Linked DNA regions of Homo sapiens: regions 1 and 3 are each linked to region 2. Evidence: promoter capture Hi-C in human tissues and cell types (Jung and others, 2019). All regions are on one chromosome and are shown on one strand. Each heading gives the region's core, a stretch centred on a gene start or on the middle of the fragment in contact. The rest is flanking DNA. Distances are from core to core; before and after follow the strand shown. Region 1 has its middle 160 kb from the start of MIR744. Region 2 holds the start of MYOCD (myocardin). Region 3 has its middle 180 kb from the start of LINC00670.

Evidence for each region. Contacts are between HindIII fragments. The study calls those that stand out against the background at their distance.
Region 1: a fragment that was not itself captured here is called in contact with the fragment with the promoter of MYOCD in region 2 in 2 of the 25 tissues and cell types used here (H1 embryonic stem cells and heart left ventricle).
Region 3: a fragment that was not itself captured here is called in contact with the fragment with the promoter of MYOCD in region 2 in 1 of the 25 tissues and cell types used here (dorsolateral prefrontal cortex).

What each region holds. Positions count from the first base shown.
Region 1 is chr17:12,238,127-12,240,995 of GRCh38, reverse strand. No RefSeq gene overlaps it. Among named protein-coding and RNA genes, the nearest start is that of MIR744, 160 kb to the right of the region's middle. The HindIII fragment of the contact is 6,907 bases long and covers 1-2,869 here.
Region 2 is chr17:12,664,456-12,667,354 of GRCh38, reverse strand. It overlaps MYOCD (myocardin), which reads right to left and starts at 1,465. Exons shown (of 14, transcript NM_001146312.3): 1 at 1,112-1,465. The coding sequence starts at 1,166. The HindIII fragment of the contact is 11,548 bases long and covers 1-2,899 here.
Region 3 is chr17:12,373,122-12,375,821 of GRCh38, reverse strand. No RefSeq gene overlaps it. Among named protein-coding and RNA genes, the nearest start is that of LINC00670, 180 kb to the left of the region's middle. The HindIII fragment of the contact is 4,594 bases long and covers 1-2,700 here.

The DNA.
Region 1 (2,869 bases), core at 358-2,857, 430 kb after region 2:
ATCATTATATTTTTTAATTACCAAAAACTCTGACATTTAGAAGATGTAGAAGACCTTTATAGACATGAAATTATAAGTTGGTTGTTGTTTTTTTTTTTTTTTTTTTTTTTTTTTAAGAGACGGAGTCTCGCTATGTCACCCAGGCTGGAGTGCAGTGGCATGATCATAGCTCACTGCAGCCTTAATTCCTGGGCTGAAGCAATCCTCCTGCTCCGGCCTCCCAAAGCCCTGGGATTATAGGCTTGAGCCATCACACCCAGAAGAAATCATGAAAATTCTTTTAAAAGGTTTTTAAAATTTTACCTCCAAAAAGACTTTAGGCCCAGATGGTGTTATCAGTGAATTATTTGGAACTTTCATGCAAACAAACAAACAAAAATGTCTAAGTCATTCTAAAGGATGGAACTAGAAATCACAAATCACCTAGTGGCTCAATTCCAATGAATAGAGAAGAAAAGACAAAAATGTAACTTTATAATGAAGAGGCCTTGCCAGCATTACCTTCACTAAGTGACCAAGGTTCCCTCTGATACAATGTGATGAGAAGGGCGCTTCACGTCTATGGCTGCGTTCCCAAAAATCCATAACCCGGATCGAATTAGGAGAAAAATACAACAGACAAACTCAGACTGGGGGACAGTCTACGGGATGCCCAGCCAGTACTCTTCAAAACTCTCAAGGTCATTAAAAACAAAAAAAAGTACTGAGAAACTCACAGACCACAGAATTAGTATCATGTGGTATCCTGAACTGGATCCTGGAATAGAAAGAAAACACTAATAGAAAAAACGTTGAAATCCAAATAAAGTCTGGAGTTAATTCAATAGTAATGGAGCAATGTCTGTTTTTCAGTTTTAACAAATGTACCACGGTAACATACAAAATTGGGCGGGGGGTATCCAGGAATTCTTTAAACTATCTTTACAATTTTTATGTAAATCTAAAATTATTTCAAAATTAAAACTATAAGTAAAGAGTTAAAGGGGAAAATGTTTATGATAATCTCAATAGATACAGGGGAGATGTAAAGCAAAAAATAAAATTTACAGTCTGTGGCCTAGATGCTTATAGGATCTGTGAGGTGTGACTACACTCTAAGAAACTCCCGTCCATGATTTCAGGGGAAGCTGATAAGCTGGAGGCATGGAACTCCACCTAAGGTTAAGAAGATTAAGAGTAGTATTTGAGTTTCCCCTATGAAAGAATGAAAACTTCGGGAAATCAGACCAAAATCAGACTCCAATTTAGGGACCCAACCCCTAACTACTTCTAGTGAGTGTTCTCTTTTATCTTTTTCTTCCTCTGTAAATTTTCATCAAGGCAAATTCTAAAACCATTCTATGAAAAGTGTAGGATTTCTGGTACCCTCACATCAAAACCAGTCTCTTGTTTAAACCACCTCAATAAAACATGCCCAATTTCAGGACTCCTCCCCTGACCCCACCGGCACCTCTGATACAGTCATCTGGATATAATCTCCAATCTGTTCTCTCCCTTGCACATACCTGGCAGTAGAGGCTCTCTTTAACATTGAGAGGTGAAGCCAGCTGGGCTTCTGGGTTGGTTGGGGACTTGGAGAACTTTTCTGTCCAGCTAAAGGTTTCTAAAAGCACCAATCAGTGCTCTGTGTCTAGCTAATAGGGTGGGGACTAGAAGAACTTTTCTGTCTAGCTAAAGGATTGTAAATGCACCAATCAGCACTTTGTGTCTAGCTAAAGGTTTCTAAATGCACCAATCAGCACTCTGTAAAATGGACCAATCAGCAGGATGTGGGTGGGGCCAAATAAGTGAATAAAAGCAGGCCACAGAGCAAGGGTCAACAACTCGCTGGGGTTCCTTTCCTCCCTGTGGAAGCTTTGTTTTTTCACTCTTCGCAGTAAATCTTGCTGTTGTTCACTCTGGGTCCCCGCCACCTTTATGAGCTGTAACACAGCGAAGGTCTGCAGCTTCATTCCCGAAGTCAGCAAGATCAGAACCCATCAGAAGGAAGAAACTCCGGATACGTGGGAACATCAGAAGGAACAAACTCCGGACACACCATCTTTAAGAACTGTAGCACTCACTGCCAGGGTCTGCGGCTTCATTCTTTTAGTCAGCGAGACCAAGAACCCACCAATTCTGGACACAACATGACCCCCTTTATTCTCTAAGATGACCAGCTAGCTAATCTCATTAATCAGAGCCAACTCATTTTTCACTATCAACCTTTAGTCATTAAGAATTACTTAGTTGCTGGGTTGCTGCCTGAAACCCACATTTTGATTCAGTATATGTAGGCAAGTATCAGAAAAAAAGAAAAAAGTGACTTTAAAATAAAAATGCAGAGGCATTCAATGTGTGTAGTGCTTGCTGGCCACAGCAGTTACTACCAAGGAGTCTTCTGGGAGGGACCACTGTGTTGAAGGAGGCTCCTGCCTGAGGGAGGGCATCAGGCAGTGGGCTCTGTAAAGCGAGAACCAGGTGGACGCCTTCTGTGCCCAGCTCAGAGTCCTGCACCATGCCAGGAATGCCTAAGCCAAGGGCTACTGACGCAAGTTCCACTCATTCCACTCTGTGTGGGGGGACCTTGCGCCTCTCCTGGAAGGGCTCTTGGAGAAGGAATTGGAGTTACATACAAGTGACCTAAATGGGAAGCTTTTCTAGATGAGACTGGATTAAATTCATATGGTTTCTTTTTCCCTTTAATTCAGGTTGGGACTCGTTTCTTTCTGCTGGATCACAGCTGCCCAGATGTTGCAACCGATTTTTATTGTTTCTGTAGAGAAGTATTTTTCTTTCATCCTCAAGTTTTTTTTTTTTTGTTTTGTTTTTTTTTGAGACGGAGTCTCACTGTCGCCCAGGTTGGAATGCAGTGGCGCGATCTCGGCTC
Region 2 (2,899 bases), core at 216-2,715:
TTGCATCAACAATGAAGATCCTAAGAAAATCTCCAGTTGACTCCACAGGCATCTAAAAACCAAGGGCATCTAAGAAAGTCACAGATGAACCTTACCTCCCAGCATCTACATTTTTCCTTTTTGAACCATCCATCCCAAGTGAAACAACTGAGTTGGCCCCATGTAGAAGGGCTAAGGAAACTTTAGCTTAGCAACCTATGCCAGCATCTTTCTGACACCTGTTATGTCTAATGTTCACATCAGAGTTCTCCTAAAAGTCATCAATCTAAGTAGAAGTCCTACATTGTTGAGTGTGTTGTTAACCAGTTTTCTAAAACCAACATTATACACAGAGCTACTGAAAAATAACTTCAGAAGTCAAGTGTTGCTTTGTCTAAACGTGGAGACCCACACAGACACCTTCCATGGGCGCGTGTACAAGCCCTTCTGGAGAAGCGGTTAGAGCTCCCGTCTCTCCCTTCCACTCACCTCCACTCAGCGTCCTTTGAGAAGTTTCTCCATGTGCCACTAACACAGAAATTTTGGGGGAAATTCTCTATTTATAAATATCAGATGGTTTGGGAAAAAATATTTGTGGCACTGGGCTTTCTTTTTTTTTCTACAGTGATGTCATTTTAAATACTTGGTGTGCTCCAAATTTGCTATTTTTACTTCCCCCAAGTGACTTTTTTTGGGAAATACATTTGTTTGGATTAGCTACATTTTAAGTGACCCCTGTACCTAACACACAACATCAGGTTCATCTTCTCAGCGATTATAACCGATACTACGCAGCTTCCAAACTTGAAATCCCTTATTTGTTCATTTCCAAAGTTGCTCCCTCTGAATGTACCCCTCCAAAATTTCTATTCATAGATGCAGAGAAAATAAAATAAAAGGATTGGCCTTTTCACAGATGAACAACCACACTCGACCACCCAAAGCACTTACAACGGAAGACACGAAAGGCCCCCAAAGTCAAACAAAACTCTTCGCTTCCACAATGTGCTTTTGGGGAACAAAGTTGAGGTAGACCTGGCAGGCTTTGAAACATTTATTGGAAAGCAGTTCTAGAGTTGAGAATTGCAGAAGAGGAAAGTTTAAGAAGGAATGCTAAATGCCTTAGCCCTACCTGATCTGAACTTGCTCCTAATCAGCAAGGAATGCTCAGACCCCAGGAGTGTCATGTTGAGTCTCAGCAAGCCGCTGGTCCCTTGGCCAGGCGCCCCCTGTTCTCCACCAGCAACAGGCTCCCGGGAGCCCAGCTGACCGCAGCTAACAACCCAGAATTCATCCAACTCTCCGTGAGCTCCCCTGGGTAGGAGTACAGTGGCAGCCAGTGTCCCCAGAAAACTGGCGCCTCCCCCCTCGCCGTGCGGGGCTAATTAACTCTTAGCCGGCGGGACCCTCCTCCTCCTCGGAGGTTGGCCAGGAGCAGCGCGGCATCCCAGGCGTTCCTGTCTGATGTCATAGGCTGCCGGCGATTGCGGAGAATCGCCACCACGCCTTTATGAAGGTCCCAACTTTGCCATCTGATACCCTTTACTACTGACAGGCGCTCAGCCAATCAGGAGCGGCGAGCGGGGTCTGGGGACCCGGAGCCGCCGAAGCCGTCTCGGGAACCGGCTCTTAACTCTTTGCGGCGGGCCCCGCAGCCGCCGAGGCACAGAGGGCGGGAGCAGGGCCAGGGGTCGGGAATCTGGGAGAGGGGCGCGAGCTAAAGAGCGGATGCCCGGAGGAAAGAAGGAAGGGCTGCGACGCCGCGGGGCTTGCAGGTGGTTCGCGGGGCTGCGGCAGCCGCTGGGAGCTCCGAGGTCCTGGGGATGGGCGTGCGCAGCCGGGGCTTCCCCGGCCGGGCTTCTGCCGGCGAAAGGGAAGCGGCCGGGATCTCCCGCCAGCCGGCTGCAAAGGCTGCGCGAAAGGGCGTGCGCGCCCGCGGGACAGTTCACGCGGGGCAATTTGGAAATAAGCTGGACCCCTGAGAAGAAAAGCTTCCGACGGACCGAAGCCCACGCATTCCCCTCGGTTTGAGGGGCTCAGGGCACTGGCAGAGACGATTCTGTATCTCGCAGCTCCAATACTGGACTTAGATGCATTTCCACGGGGAAATGGAAAGGCTTTCATTTTCTAGGATATGCTTTTTGGGGGGACAAATGTGACACGGCGCATCTGGAGATCCAGCTGCGACACAACGCTCCCACCTCACAACCCCGAGGGAATGGGAAAAGATACCTGAGTTGGAGTGAAAAACCTACTGGGCTCTAAATAGGGAGGGGCTCTGGAGCAGGGGGCAAGTCAGAGCTCGGGCTGGGCTTAGCTTGGGAAGGCTCAAAAACTTTGCCTGCGAATGAGTCTCTCCTTAGGGGAAAATCCATTCCGTAACCGACCCAGAGTTATTTGTGCATCTGGCCGAGGTGTTATAGGCACATGGATCAATGAAATAAAACAAAGACCCATCTCTCAAGAAGCCCGTTAAATAGTTGGTGGCTCAGAACATAAAAACCACTCTGTATACGTATATAATTAGGGCTTATTTGCAACTTCATATGCACGTGGACCCCGGGTGTCGTCTATTACACACAAGCCTGCCTGCATACTACGAGTCCTTAAAAGATCAGTCGGTGACAGATGGAGACCCGAGGTGACAATAGCTCATGGGGACAACCTCTAATGTCCTGGTCCCGGCCTCTGCCCCATCCCCTGTTGCTGAAAACACATTAGAGGGGTTAGCCCTAGAGCTTACTCTCTGGATCTGAGCGGGGCGATTTTGTAAATAAGGTCTTCAGGGATAGACACCTTCTTGCTGATGTGTCAGAGACGAGGAAGAACAATCCATCCATGTTCCCTTTGGGGATCTAGTCCTGGCCTGGGCGCCTGTCTATAGGCTGATTTCGTGTGCAGGAGCATCTCAGCGATTACG
Region 3 (2,700 bases), core at 153-2,652, 290 kb after region 2:
CAGCCAGGTGTTGGGGGCACTACTAACTAATTCTGGACCATTTTTAAATGAATTAGCAAATCAAGTTGTAACTGACAACCAGGTGTTCTGGATGTGTTTGGGAAATCCACACAAGGGAAAGATTGTGATTACAACTTCCTAGGGATAGTTTTCACCTGTTCTGTTCAATGCCAAACAAACAAACATTTCCCTGCAGTCCCCTGGAACTAGAATGGAAAATTTACATCTAATTCACTTTCCCTTAAGGGTTTGACTCTTAGGGATCCCCGTTTTATGATAGAAGCATCTTCTCTTAGATGTGCACTTTGAGCAGTCTTTTGAGTTTGTTTGTTGTTTCTAGTTTGAATACCCTTCAGTTACAAAGAATGTTTACCTATTTGCCAAATGCCCTCAAGGATAACGTTGCTTCAAGGCTCTGCTTACTTCTCTCAGATCCTTTAGACTGTGGCCTCCTAATCTCTTACAACCTGGTCATTTCTTTGATGCTGTTAAGCATAATTTTTAATGAATATGTTCTCCATAAATTTTAGGTTTTAGCAGGAGAATTGGTCCTAATAACATAACCTGCCATAATATTAGAAAGCACTAAATAAAGATTCTTGGGGAAAAACAGACAAACAATAAGAGAAAATCTAATATTGACCTGAAATTTAAAGTTCTAAACTATGTCTTAAAACATAGGAGTTAGAGGACAGGGTGGAGGGAGAAAATAAAAATATTCTAATTAGCATTGGGGAAGTAGGTCAGTAAGAAAGCATCTTAATGGGGAAAGGTGGGAGTTTTGTACTTCTGTAGAATAGTGGAAAATATACATGATTAGGAGAGTCAAACATGAAATGCCACTAGCAGAATGAAAAAAATACAGTCGTATTTTCAAAAGATAAGAAAAAAATAGAATGAATGACAAAATCAGCTACAAAATAAAACTAAATAAAGGAGAATCACAAAGTAAATAAATATTAAACATAAAGATGGGCCTAATAAAATTAAGTATCATATGTTAAAGTAAATGTGGATAGAATGAATTATCCCATTAAATAACTAAGACTGTCATATTGAGTTAAAAAACAAAACCCAGATATATGCTGTTTATAAGGAGAATTCTTAAAAATGGAAAAGAAATTTTGAAAATAAAAGGATAAACAGAGAGATGTCAAGCAAATGCAAACAAAAAGAAAGCAGGAGTGACAATATTAATATCACACAGGGTGGAACTTAAGGTTAAAAGCACTAAACAAAATACAGAGGAACATTGTGTAATAATAAAAGACAATTTATGAAGAAGAAACAATAATCATAAAGCTGCATGTCCTATAAAAATATAGCACCTAAGTATACAATATTATTAGAGGTTCAAATAATTTTTGGCTTAAAAAACAACTATCATGAAACAGTTCCAATGATTTTTCCTTCTGAATCAGATGGTTCTGGTATACCAAAAAAAAAAATAAAAAATAAAAACTAAAGTTATTTGGGCACAAAAGAACTAAGGAATATATAAAGACATATATGTTTTCCCTCATGTCCATAGACCCTCTACTGAAATCAATTACATAATTGGCCACAAATAAAGCTTACAAATTCAAAGAGGCAGAGTGTTTTTAGGCTATATTACCTGAATATAATCCAATAAACTTAGTTAGAAATAAAGAATATGAGTGGAAAAAACCTTTAATAGTTGGAAATTAGGAAACATACTTCTAAATAACTCTTGGAACAAAGAAATAGGAAATCAAAATTGAAAACACAAGCTAGCTGGATAAAAAAAAAAAAAAGAATATATCATACCAAAATATGTATAGCTGTAGAAGCTATCCTGAAAGGAAAATTAATAGCCCTAAATGCTTTTATTAGTGCAGGTAAGAATTAGAGCTAATTTATTTGAAAATAGAACTAGAAGAAAAGTAATAAATAAATCAACAAGTTTGATTTGGGGGTAAGAAGAAACAATAAAATAGGCAAACTTCTAGCAAATGCAATCAGGGAAAAAAGCAAAACTAAAGAAAGTAAAATTAAAATCAAGACATGGAACATAGTAACAAATGCAGAGGGTAAGTAAATATCACATTCCAATCAATCCATACGATTTCTAACTGATGAAATTCATCATGATTTGAAAACTGTGAAATCACTAGAATGTTTCTCCCCAAAGCCCTGTAAACCTGAATAGATTAGAAGGAACTGAAAAGATGTTGAAAAGATGTTCAAAGAATTTACCATCTAACAAGATTCAGGGCTAAAAATGTGTCAAGAAGAGAGCCAATGTACTAAAGACCAAAAATATTTAAGACTATATAAACATTTCAGGGTCCTGATCCATTATTTAAATTTAAAAAAAACTAATTATTGTAGCAGAAAAGAGAAATTATAGGCCATTCTAATGTATGAAGTTTAAAAAATCCTCAATCAAATACTCAGAAAAAGAATTCATCAGAAAATTAAAAGAATGCTCTTAACAAGATTTAGCTAAAGGACATAAATGATTTAATACGAAGAAATACAATAATTAAATGCACCGCACTTTTTTTCTCAACAGTCATAAGGCAATCACAAATTCACACGATAACTAATAAAAATAGAAATAAAAACTATTAATAAAGGAAACTTACTTTAATTGTAAATTATAAAATGCTGTGAGGGGTCTTTTAGAAGTTCATGAAAATGCATATTATGAAAAAACTTTGCATGGATTTCAAAATT